2 separate regions of the Homo sapiens genome follow, and region 1 is linked to region 2. Evidence: promoter capture Hi-C in human tissues and cell types (Jung and others, 2019). All regions are on one chromosome and are shown on one strand. Each heading gives the region's core, a stretch centred on a gene start or on the middle of the fragment in contact. The rest is flanking DNA. Distances are from core to core; before and after follow the strand shown. Region 1 holds the start of LOC124902496 (a long non-coding RNA gene). Region 2 holds the start of CALHM2 (calcium homeostasis modulator family member 2).

What was found. The method cuts DNA at HindIII sites, captures the fragments that hold promoters and counts their contacts. A contact is called where the count stands out against the background at its distance.
Region 1: a fragment that was not itself captured here is called in contact with the fragment with the promoter of CALHM2 in region 2 in 2 of the 25 tissues and cell types used here (aorta and liver).

Annotation. Positions count from the first base shown.
Region 1 is chr10:103,580,022-103,586,053 of GRCh38, reverse strand. It overlaps NEURL1 (neuralized E3 ubiquitin protein ligase 1), which reads right to left. Exons shown (of 6, transcript NM_004210.5): 4 at 829-1,518. LOC124902496 (a long non-coding RNA gene) reads left to right here and starts at 2,311. Exons shown (of 3, transcript XR_007062277.1): 1 at 2,311-3,342; 2 at 3,470-3,615; 3 at 5,065-6,032. RefSeq lists a silencer at 1,581-1,640. The HindIII fragment of the contact is 5,943 bases long and covers 121-6,032 here.
Region 2 is chr10:103,451,120-103,457,490 of GRCh38, reverse strand. It overlaps CALHM2 (calcium homeostasis modulator family member 2), which reads left to right and starts at 5,121. Exons shown (of 4, transcript NM_015916.5): 1 at 5,121-5,335; 2 at 6,206-6,371. CALHM1 (calcium homeostasis modulator 1) reads left to right here. Exons shown (of 2, transcript NM_001001412.4): 2 at 1,744-4,251. The coding sequence ends at 2,229. It overlaps LOC124902494 (a long non-coding RNA gene), which reads right to left and starts at 5,048. Exons shown (of 2, transcript XR_007062275.1): 1 at 4,255-5,048. RefSeq lists a silencer at 4,720-5,049 and enhancers at 4,888-5,509, 5,510-6,130, 6,079-6,371. The HindIII fragment of the contact is 12,335 bases long and covers 2,563-6,371 here.

The DNA of each region.
Region 1 (6,032 bases), core at 1,843-4,342, 130 kb before region 2:
GCAGCCCCACTTCCCCCAAGGCTGCCTGCTCAGGGATTCCCCCGAGTCCCCCAACCAGACACCACCCTGCACCACCTGACTACTGACATTCCAACCTTTTTTTCTCATTTGGACTCACAAACTTCCTTAAAGGTGAGGACCTTTATTTCCATTTTGGAGAAATGGTAACCGAGACTCAAAAAGTTAACTGCTGGGGGAAACCTTTTTTTTTTTTTTTTTTTGAGACGGAGTCTCACTCTGTCGCCCAGGCTGGAGTGCAGTGGCACGATCTTGGCTCACTGCAAGCTCCGCCTCCTGGGCTCAGCCATTCTCCTGCCTCAGCCTCCCGAGTAGCTGGGACTACAGGCGCCCACCACCATGCCCCGCTAATTGTTTGTATTTTTAGTAGAGACGGGGTTTCACCGTGTTAGCCAGGATGGTCTTGATCTCCTGACCTCATGATTCGCCCGCCTCGGCCTCCCAAAATGCTGAGATTACAGGCGTGAGCCACCGCACCTGGCCTTTTCCTCTCATTTTTGAGTGGTCAGTGGGTTGTGTGCTTCTGGACTGTTTATGTATCTGTGAGACTATGGGTTGATCTGATTCTGGGCATCAAACTCAATAATCCGCGCTTTCCCTCGCCTCACCCCCCAGGTGAGTCTCCCAGGTGACATATAAGGGCCACTGACAAGATGACCAAGTCCCGCCCAGAACTCACCTTAGGTGTCTGTGATTCCTTAGCAACACCATCATGAGCCTGGAGGAAGGGGAGCTCGCCCTTTGTCTCCTACCCGGATCGTCCCCGCCTCCAGGAAAGGCATACGCCCAGGCGCAGCTGCGGGCACTCACCGAGGATGCGGATCTGCGTGATGGTCCCGTGCAGGCCGAAGAGCATCCAAAGCGGCTGCGAGGCGTCCACGCACAGCTGCATGCCGGCGGCCGCGCCATTGTGGCTGAGGTGCAGCTCGCCGTCGGCGTTGACCACCAGGCCCAGGATGTCGCCGCTGTGCAGGGGCCCGGGCACGCGGCACACGGCCCAGAATTCCTTGCGGTCCACCAGGGCCTCAGGGCTGAAAGGCAGGTCGGCCGGCCGCAGCGTGCCGGGGTCGCACGTGGTGACGCCGAACGACAGCGCGCCGGGCCGCGCGCCACCCGAGCGCGTGACCTTGACGAAGATGGTCTCGGCCACGCGCACGGGCCGGCTGGTGAAGACGAGCGCGCGCTCGTCGCGCCCGTGCTCCACGCGCGCCACCGTCTGCTCGTCGAGGATGCGGACGTGCGCGCCGGCGCGCAGGGCGTGGAAACGCAGGTCGCCGTCGAGCTGCGCCGGCAGCGCGCGGCTGTGCTGCGAGTTGAGTGAGTTCTGCGGGATGGGGCAGCCGGCGGCCGGCGCGGCCTCGTCGCCGTCCGCGCCCGGCACGTTGAGGTCGCATAGGCTCACCGAGAGGCGCGCGTCGTCCGCCTCGCGCCGCAGCGACGGCCGCCGCAGGGCGGTGAAGGAGCGCGGCCGCAGACAGTCCGGGAGCACCAGCTCGCTATCTGCGCGGGAGACACGGGGCAGTGTCACGCAGGGCTCTCGGGAGGCGGCCCCGGCGCGCCCCGCTGTCCGGTCCCTACGCGCGCACCGTTACAATCCCGGATGGCTAATGGCGCACACGATGCTTGTGACATAAATTAGCGAACACAGTCAAGAAACGACTCTTGCAGGACATCTGTTTAAGCAGAGGAATAGGTGGGGGGAAGCACCGAAACTGAAACCATGTGGATGCTTCCAAATGCTCACAGGTGCTTGCTATATGCATATGTGTACTTCCTCATTTTCTACAGTAAACTTGTATTCCTCATAATTTAAAATTTTCAAAAATTTAACTCCTGGGCTCCTTCCGTCTTATCCCTAGCAGCTAGAACAGCGCCAAGCATTCTGTTGACAAACAGTAACCGTCTGTCGAGTGCACTGACGAAGGCCTAACATCCTGGAAAGCCAGGGAGCAACCACCCCCCAGCAAACACACAGACACCCTCTTTGCGTACATTGTCTCATCTAACCTTAACAATCACCTTTTGAGGCTACCATTGCCATGTCAGGACACAGGCTGAGAAGTAGATCTATCCAAGATACCCTTTTGAAAGTGGCTTAACAGGGAATCAAACTCATCGTTCTTTTTTAAATCATACAAGTTATACAAAATATAAAACGGTATTTTGTAGAAAATTCAGTTCAGCAAAAAGAAAAAACAATCGCCTATAAGCCCACCACCCAGAGAAAAGCATTTTTAATATTTGGATGTATGATCTTTTGGCCTTTTTAAAGGCTGTATTTTTGGGTTTTTTGTTTGTTTGGCTTTTTTTTTTTTTTTTTTTTTTTTTTTGAGACAGGATCTTGCTCTGTGGCCCAGGCTGGAGTGCAGTGGAGATATCTCAGCTTACAGCAACCTCCGCCTCCCAGGCTCAAGCCATCCTCACCTCAGCCTCCCAAGTAGCTGGGATGCACCACCGCGCCCAGCTAATTTTTGTATTTTTGGGGTAGAGACGGTATTTCGCCATGTTGCCCATCTGGTCTCCAACTCCTAGGCTCAAGCGATCCTCCTGCCTCAGTCTCCCAAAGTGCTACGATTAGAAGTGTGAGCCACCACACCCAGCTGGTTACTTTTTTTAGTGCAAAAATTGAGTCATGCTATATAAACATCACTTGTTTTTTACCTTTTATATGTACTACATCACTTTGAAAATGTGATGACATTGACCCTTTTCCCCAGAAAAATGAACATTCTCACTAAATTCTGTAGATAATTTCTCGGCATTCATGAACTACATGAAGCCATTCATGGGCAAGGACTCCAGGCTAAGAACCCTGGTAGCTTTTTTCAAAATTTTCAAAAATTTAACTCCTGGGCTCCTTCCATCTTATCCCCAGCATCTGAACACCTCTCCGTGCCAATAACTGTTTCCAACACCATATTCTTCTAATGGCTGTGTTATGTTCTGCTTTATGGAGTCCTATAACTTTCAATAAAAGTGATCACCATGTTCCATGAATTACCCCTGCAATTCATCCTTACGGCAGCCCGTGGAAGTGTTCCCGTTTTACAGATAAAGCTCAGCGGCGTTATGACAGCCGCCATGTGGCAGATCCAGGATTGAAAAAAAGGTCTGTCCAACTCCTAATGCCGCATTCTTCACTTCCAGACTCTCCTTGTTTATTGAAGCCTTTCTGCGTGAGTCAATCTCTCCAAATATGCCTGGTGCCACTGTAAGCCGCACCATGGACCGATCCCTTCCTTTGGGCCTTCTCCCTGAACCTCTCCAAGGGAGAATCTGTGCTGTCTCTTCAGGAACTGGGTTAAGGATGGCTGGGGTTCTCAGGTATGACAGCAAAGCTTGGGGGATTGGTCTGGTAGGGACAGCAGAGGCCAAAATTCAGTTCCAACTGAATGTAGACATGGTCACTAAACCTCCCTCTTTTCTTTCACCCTTTCACTGCCCCTTCCAGGAACTGTGTTGTCTGGCCCCCAGAAAGCTCTGGGTGTGGGCCCTTCCCCCCAAGCCTCCTGAAGCTCTGGAGAAGCCTCCTGGGGCCTGGCTGATTGGGGTTTCCTGGAATCGTGTTGGCGAGGAGGAGGGAGCCGGCCAGAAAATGTGATTATTCCAGGGAATTGACTCTGTGACAGTGATGGTGCATAGAGGCTGGGGGGCTGCAGAGAGGCAGAGGCAGAGGCCAGGAGGGCCTGTGCAGGGGGGAGGTAGGAGAGACAAATGGTGCAGAGTGGGGGAAAGCCAGTGGGCTGACCTGGACCCTGGGGAACAGTCCCTGCTCCCTCACCCCTCTGGGATTCCAGGCACTGACCCTTGGGAACTTCAGAGGGTGGGAGACAGAGAGGGGAAGGGGCAGTAACAGCAGGGAGAAGAGGAATCAGGTCGCTCAGAGATGTCCAGCCAGAGCCTCCAGGAACACAGCTGTCACAGGGCCCACACCACCCCCTCAGGACAATCAGTCCAGAGCTCCTGGGGCTGGGCAGACCCTCAGAACAGAGCTCTTAATGGGGCTGGATGCAAGCTATCCTGGTCTCTCTGCCCCTTCAGGAGTCCCCTTCTACTTAAACATGCACACTACCAGGTGCTCACTAACTTCCAGGCAACCTGTTCCATTGTGGAGTTAATCTGTCTTTAAAGAGTATTTCCTTCTTTTAAACCAAAATCTACCTCCCTGTATTTAACCCACTACCTCCTGAGCTGCCTATCAGCCCAGTACTGAAGACAATTCTCAGGGAATACTCAGAGTCCCCACACACCTTCCCACCTCTTAGATAATGAACAAAACCAGACTCAGTACTCTAGATGTGCACCAACCAGCTCAAGGCATAGTGTGGCCATCACCTCCCTTGGTATATATGCTATACTTCTAATAATGCAACCTAAAAGTACATTAGGTTTTTTTCAGTAACCAACATTCATATACTAGTAGGCAGGACAGGAGCACAGTTAAGTGCAATGAATTTGAAGTCATCAGTCTAGGTTCAAATCCTGGCCCTGCCATTTCCTGTATGACAGGGCTATATGACTGGACAAATAGCTGAACTTCTTGGGGCCTCTTCAGCAGTGAAATCAGCATCTACTGATTTACATAAAATCTGTATCTAATACTCCCCTTAGAAGAGACGCTGTGAGGATGAAAAGGAGTAAGGTACACAGGGCACCTAATAGGAGACCTGGCACAGTCATTAGGTTAATATAAGCCGTTGTTATTGGCATGTGAAATGCCACATGATTCAGAAGAAAGTGCATGGGCTTTGGGGTGATCCAGGTCTGGATCAGGCCTAGGTTTAAATGTCTGATCCAGCACTTGGCTGGTGGCTTTTGGGTAAGCAACCTTCCTCCCAGCCTCAAATTTCTCACCTAGAGAATAGGGGTAATAATACCTGCCCTGAGTTGTTGTTGGAAAGATCCGAGGTAAAGTGGGACCACCCCCAGCACCCAGAAGCTACCCGATAACTTCAGATATTAGTATTTGCTTGGCTTGAGCACAGTCTCAACTAAAAGTCAGGTACACCTGTCCTCAGACCATGGGCTTTTTGAACCTTAATGCAGGATTTCACATCAGTCATGATGGGTACCCAGGAAATACTCATTGAATGAAATCACCAAAGACCAAGAAGCAGCAGCTAAAATGTAGAGGTGAGAGGATAAAGAAGAAAGAAAGGAGAAACAGTGGAGGATGTACAAAGAGAAGGGGGTAGGAAGAGGATCCCTTTAGCCTTGCTTGAAATCTTGCTAGAGTTGGGAGGGGAGGGACAAAAGCTGCTGGGAAACAGCTAAAAACGGAACGAATCCCTAGGGCCAGTGCCCAGCCCAAGTCTGTCTTCTCTCCCTCTCCACCCCTCAGGGTCAGGAGCAGCTGCAGGCAGCCAGCAGCTCCAAAATAACCATCCCATCAGTGAGCCCAGCTGTGTCGAAGCCCTGAAATAGATGAAACTCGAGACACAGGAGCTGGTTAGAACACCCTCCGCAGAAGGGACGGCAAAGGTCACAGTTGAGTGAGCTGATACCAAGTTAGAGGTCAGGGCAGTGTTTGGGGCCCCAAGCCATGGGAGAACACCATGGGACCAACCTCGGCCCAAGACTGCACCACTTGATGGGTAAGGCTTAGAAAAACCAGATGGGCAACCTCTCACCCCAAGCAGTGGGGTGGCCCCACATTCGGAAGCAACAAGTTACATAATCGGTGCCGGGACACGTGCCCACCTGCTTTGGAGGTGTTTATGATGGGAACAGAGATGGCACAAGGCCATGAGGAGAAGCCGCTAAGCTGACTACCCTTGCATGTCCCATCATTCAGGAAAGAACCTGTCAGTCTTCAGCTCTTGCCTGTTCTGGTGCCCGGCAGTGGCTCTACCAACACCCTGGGCCAGAGCAAAAATAAGCAGACCCTGCCAGGGCAGGGAGGTCCCGGCCATGTGTTTCCCCTCCTCTAGGTGGTGCTGGGGGCCCTACTCACTGACCTACTGTGTGCCCAGCCCTGGGCAGGGAGTCTGGGAGAGGGAGGAGCCAGGAACTGG
Region 2 (6,371 bases), core at 3,872-6,371:
TGCTCTGCAAGGACTGGAGAAACGTGCACACTCTGCCCTGGCAAGTCCAGACACCCCTGGCTTCCCACTCTAGCAGGGGCCTCTCTCCTGGGAGGCCTCTGTCACCACCCAGATGACCTTGGTGAATGTCATGCTCTAAGCATCCCGACTGAACTCTACTTCCCTCTCCTCCCTAACCTGTGCCTCCTCTCCTGTGGGCACTCATCCCATCGTCCCCGGCCTCAGGGCCTTGGCAGCTGTCATTCCACCTGACCTTTAAGCCACCACATCATAAGCTGAGAGGGCCCCAGAGGCCACAGGCTGCCTGGCCTATACATGTTTCATTTGGCCTTCAGAGACTGAATTCTAGATTCAACTTTAGAATTTGTTGGCATCTTCTAAAAACCAGAATGGGCCGGGTACGATGTGCCTCATGTCTGTAATCCCAGCACTTTGGGAGGCCAAGGCAAGAAGATTGCTAGAGCCCAGGAGTTCAAGACCAGCCTAGGGAATATAGTGAGACCCTGTCTCCAAAAAAGAAAAGAAAAGAAAAAAATTAGCCAGGCTTGGTGGCACATGCCTGTAGTCCCAGCTACACAGGAAGCTGAAGTGAGAGGATTGCTTGAGCCTGGGAGGTCAAGGCTGCAGTGAAATGTAATTGTGCCACTGCACTCTGGCTTGGGTAACGGAGTAAGACCTGTCTCAAAACAAAAAAGTAAATAAGATTAAAATAAAAATCGGAATTTTTCACATAAAAATCAGATTTTCAAGTTGGAAATCCAGAAAATCCAGCCCCACCAGGCCCGCGTGTACTCCTGGAACAGGCTGGGGTGCCCCCAGCCTATGCACATGCTCAGTGGCTCCCCACCCCGTGTGCTCTGTCACGACCTGCCTGGCCCCATAGGCATCTGGGCTTGCCCTCAGCCCCAGTCCTGATCTGCCCAAGTGCTTCTCTGTGCGGCTGGGGCCTAACCCTGAAGCGTGGGCCAGGGGAGCATCCTGCCCCGTGCCCTGCAGTGAGGTGACAGAGCAGAGCTGGAACCAAGCGCAGGGTGCTCTTCAGCGCAGAGTTTGATTTCTTGCCTGATTCGCCTCTATGACCCCTGAAGGCCCAGCTCAGAACCGACACAGAGGAGGTGCTCATTTGGCACTGGTGACAATACTAGGAGCCAAAGGAGAGGTTCAGGACTCAGAGGAAAATGGGCCACTATGGCCTGGGGAGATCAAGGAAGGCTTCCTGAAAGAAGAGGCACAGTAAGTAAGTGAGGGCCTATTGGCACAACAGTAATGGTTAATAGTCACTGAGCACTGGGTACCAGGCACTGCACTAAGCTTATCACATTCAGTCCTCACAACAACACTCTGAGATAGGTGCTACCACCAGCTGCTTTATAGGTGTGGAAACTGAGGCACAGAGAAGTTGAGTGCTTTGCTCCTGGTCAACTAGTAAATAGTGGAGACAGCATTCAAACCCAAGCAGCCTAACTCCAGGGTCTGCCCACTTAACTCCTGGGCCCTGGGTGCCCCGCCAGCACGGTGGGTGCTTTACCCACGTGATCTTCTTTCCATGAGGTGCACCTATCTCCATTATTTCAATTTCTATGCCCATTTTACAGATGAGGAAATGGAGGCCAAGAGGCAAGCTCACTTGCCCAATTTGTGCTCTTTGCCCTAGAGGCACTGGCATAGAGAGTGCTTTGGGAGTCTGAACAGGCTCGGAGGCCCAAGGACAGTGCCCCGTGACTCTCTCTCATCTTCCCACAGGCGCTGGGCTGGTCCTTCGTGCTGCTGACCACTCTGCTGGCATTCGTGGTGCGCTCTGTGCGGCCCTGCTTCACGCAGGCCGCCTTCCTCAAGAGCAAGTACTGGTCCCACTATATCGACATCGAGCGCAAGCTCTTCGACGAGACGTGCACGGAGCACGCCAAAGCCTTTGCCAAGGTCTGCATCCAGCAGTTCTTCGAGGCCATGAACCATGACCTGGAGCTGGGTCACACCCACGGGACACTGGCCACGGCCCCTGCTTCCGCAGCTGCCCCCACGACCCCCGATGGTGCGGAGGAGGAAAGGGAGAAGCTGCGTGGCATCACGGATCAAGGCACCATGAACAGGCTGCTCACGAGCTGGCACAAATGCAAACCGCCTCTGCGGCTGGGCCAGGAGGAGCCACCGCTGATGGGCAACGGCTGGGCTGGGGGTGGGCCCCGGCCTCCGCGTAAGGAGGTGGCCACCTACTTCAGCAAAGTGTGAGGTGTGGCCAGCTGAAGAGGCAGGAACGGGGATCTGAGCCCACAGCCCCTCCAACCCCCAAACCAGGTGGAAAAAGGAAGGGTTTCAGTGCTGGGCAGTACTCCCCTAGGCAGATCCACACTCCCTAGCACTCGCCTGCCCATTGGAGGCAGGAAATTTGGAGCTGGAAGGGGATCTGATGCCTTCAGGTGTGACACTGCCCTGGATGGCCCTAGGGCAGTGGGCCCATGAGCAGTATTAGTCTAAAGGGGTCGGAACTGTCATGGCAGGTACAGGGACCAATGGCTCCCCTCTGCCCAGCCCTTCCCAGGCTGATGTTCACTGTCTCCTCCCAGGTTCAACAGACATCCCTGCCCCAGGGTCCACCCTCGTCTGTGGCTGTTCAGTACCTCTCTTCCTTTATGCTCCGGGCTCGGGGAGTGGGAATCATCAGGCGTCTCATGAAGTGGGAGCCCTCTGATTTGGGCAAGCGTGTCGTAGGTGAGACTGGGTGTGCCGGGGCAGGTCCATAAGGACATGACACACAGCCTACCTGGTGTGACACACCTGGGGTGACAGGCGATGAGACAAGATGTCAGAAGCTAGGTTCACATGGAAGAGGTCAGAGTGTGTGGTCACCATGGGGGTCATGTGACAATTGTCCAGGTGGACTGCATGTTTATTTAGCACAAACCAAGCACAAAAGTCCTCCTGTAGAGGGGTCTTTGAAAAACCACCTTAATACCCCCGTCACATCCAGGTCTCCAGGGGAAATCAGACCATCCCCAAGGCTTGAGAAGTTAGACACAGAAGCTGAAGTCTCTCCATTTTTCTCAAAGACCCCACCTCTTGGGGATGGAGTTCTAAGAGGCTAAGAGGAGCTCCAAGGCTCTAGCCCAGGTGGGATGAGGGTGGAGGAGAGCAGTGTAAAGAGAAAGCAGCTCAGATTCCAGAGTGAGACAGAACTGGGTCAAATGGTGTCTCTACCACTCACAAACCCTGTCCCTGGGCCAGCTGCATCACTGCCTGTGCCTTCGTTTCTTCATCTATACAATGAGGATGAGGCCCCCCCGGCCCGCCATCATGGGGTTGCTGTGTGTAAAAGCACATGGCACATAGTAGGCACCCAGCACAGGGTGGCTAATGTATTTGTTGATTTCTGAACCTAAGGACTTCCTTCCTCCTCCCCTGGGCAGGGATGAGACAGCAACACAAACACTCGAGCTTCCATCTTGTTGAGGAGGAAACAGAGGTACAGATAGGTTTCTCAGCACCGCCCTCAGCTCTGAGACATAAGTCCCAAGCATCTAAGGATTCATTTTGATCTTGGCATGATTCCATCCTTTTTTATCCATCCTTCCCTCTATTCCCACTTCTGGGGTCCAGTTTCCCTCCTCTTAATTATTTGGGAGGAGTTGCTCAGATCTTTGTGGGCCAAGGTGGGCTGGGAGGGCTCTTCCAGGAGGTAGGAGTTGGTATGGGCCCTGAAGTCAGGGAGGATTAGGATGAGCAAAAAACAAGGTGTATGTTGGTGGGTGGCAGCACTTCCAGTGGGAAGAGAAGGCCCGGAGGTATCAGGAGGTACAAATGTGATGAAGAGCAAAGCTTTGGGTCAGGCACACCTGAGTTCAAATACCAGCACTGCAGGACTTGTGGCCAGTCACCCAGCCACTCTAAGCCTCAGTGTGTCTGTCTATAAAATGGATATTAGAAGACCTGCTTGGCCAGGCGGAGTGGCTCATGCCTGTAATCCCAGCACTTGGGAGGCCAAGGAGGGAGGATCACTTGAGCCTGGGAGTTGGAGACCAGCCTGGGCAACATAGCAAGACTCTGTCTCTGTAAAGTAATAATAATAATAAGAAGAAGAAGAAGAATAAAGAGAAGATTTATAATTTTTTTAAAATGAAAAAATTATTTTTTAAAAAAGACCTGATTTTCAGGATTGTGGTAAGGATAGAGGAAGATAACTTTTAGGGAAGGATCTGGGACTGTGTTTAGCACATGCTGGGATCTGAAACAAACAAATAAACAAGCAGAACTTGGTACCTTTTCTTTCCTTCGTACATATGGTCAAGCCCAGCTCAGGGAGGCCAGCGGGTCACTCGGCAGCTCCACCATGACGGAACCACGAGCACTGCAGAGCTGACAGATGTCGGGGGTCCTCTCCCTCCATGCTAAGGGTCATCTAGCCTGTCCGTAGACTCTCCTGTGCAGCATTCCTGACCCGTGACGCTTCAGCCCGCATCTTGACCACTTTTAGATACAGGCTGGGCAGCTCTGATTATTACACAGGGCTTCCTTCAGAAACCTGCCTCCTTGTAACTTTCACCCACCAGTTGGAGCTCTGCCTGCAGGACCCGGAGAATCCCTAGGCTCCTGAATTCAATCCTCAGCCCTCCAGGGATCCGAAGCAGGTCCCGGGGAGTTAGCTGACTATAGGTCAAAGAGTCAGCATTGGGGATGGTTTGTCCAGTCAATGGACAACTCTGAGGGAGAAGGGCCAGTAGAGGGTGGGGCCCTGGCCCTGAGCATCCTGCAGGGCTCAGCGCGGGCCTGACGACACCCTCCCTTGACCCTCGCGGGGTCTCCTTTGGTAGCTTCTGCCCAGCGGGGGTCAAGTACGTGGGGTGCTCTTGAAACTGTCATGGGGGGCAGGTCTGGGTCAGATCTCCCCAATGCCTCCACATCCCCACGTGGCCCTCCCGACTGGTCCCATTGGTGTGGAGCATGGCCCGGTCCGGGTCTGGGCCGAGGGCGGAGGGCCAGCACGGCCCAGGGACGGCGAGCAGCGGGTCGGTGGGACGCGCAGCAGCTGCAGAACAGGCATCTCAACTTCCTCTCGGCTCCTCTCCTCTCGCGCCGCCCTCGGGGCCCGCCCTCCTCTGCCTGGTGGCGCCGGGAGGCTGTTTTTCCACTCACTGGCGCGCAGACTCCATCCCACTGTTTTCTTCTCTCTTTTCTGGAGTTAGATTAGTCTGAAGCCGCCACCAGCCCCAGGCCCCCGTGCAGAAGAAAAGCGGGAGGGAACGGCGGAGGCCGCCGCTGCCCTGCACCGCCCTCCTGGAGGCCACTTGGAGAGTCCGGCCCCGAGGAGGCCATGGCCACAAGTGCCCACAGCTGGCCCCAGGTAAGGAAGGGGCCCTCCCTGGGGTGTGCCAGGTGTCAGCGGAGCATGGTGGGGCCTGTCCCACGCTGCCCAGAGGGAGAGAGGCCCCTAGCTGAGGTTCCCTCCACCCGGTTGAACAGGGAGCAGTCCTGCCCCTCCCCGAGCCGCCAGTCTCCTGTCGTCACTGATGTTGGAGGAGGTCCCACTGGGGGTCTGGATGTGACCCATCCTTGGCCTGGGGGCAGTGGTCTCAGAAGATGGCCTGGCCCATCCTCTGCTCACCACCCACCCTGTGCAGGTATCTTGTACCCCACTTTGAGCCAGTTTATGAACCCAGGGCCTCCACAGGGAGCTAATTAGGAGCCTAGAAGCCAAGAAGGGAAAAGGATGGGGCAAAGGGGGCTGACTTTAACCCATTCTTCCCCAGCAGTGATGCAAACTGCCTTTCCCAGGAAGTTAGGCTGGAAGCTCCAGGCTGTGAAGTGGGGGAAGAATCAGACTCCTCCTCCTCCTCCTCCTCCTCCTCCTCCTCCTGTTGTTCCTCCTGGTCCTCCTCCTCCAGCTTCTCCTTTTCTTGGAGTCTGCATGGCCACATGGCTCTGCCTGAGCCCATCTGGCAGCCTTCCTTGGCAGGGACAGAAGGGGTGATCTAGAAGGGGTGATCCCTCCATGAAGCATGGAAGGGAACAGGGCTAGGTCTGTGTTTGGCGCTCACCCCATCCCTCCACTCCCTGGCTTCCTCTGGCCTGGGGAGTTTTGTTTTTCACCCTCCAGAGGGGGAGGACATGGGGCCACACCCTGGCCTGTCTCTCAGGCTTGTGTGGGTGGAGGCTGGGAAGGGAGTTGGGCTAAACTTCGCTGTTGCCCGAGGCCATGGCCACTTCCCGGCAGGTTGCCAGCGTCGCTACAGCCCAGACCAAGGCAGAATAATCTCCGGATGAGCTGGTGGCACCGCTGAGCCTTTGGTCTCACCAGGGCTTCCTGTTGCTGGCAGGCGGGGTGGAGCGGAGCTGCTGGGAGGCTGCTGGATAGGAGAGGGGTCACGGCTGCGGAAGAG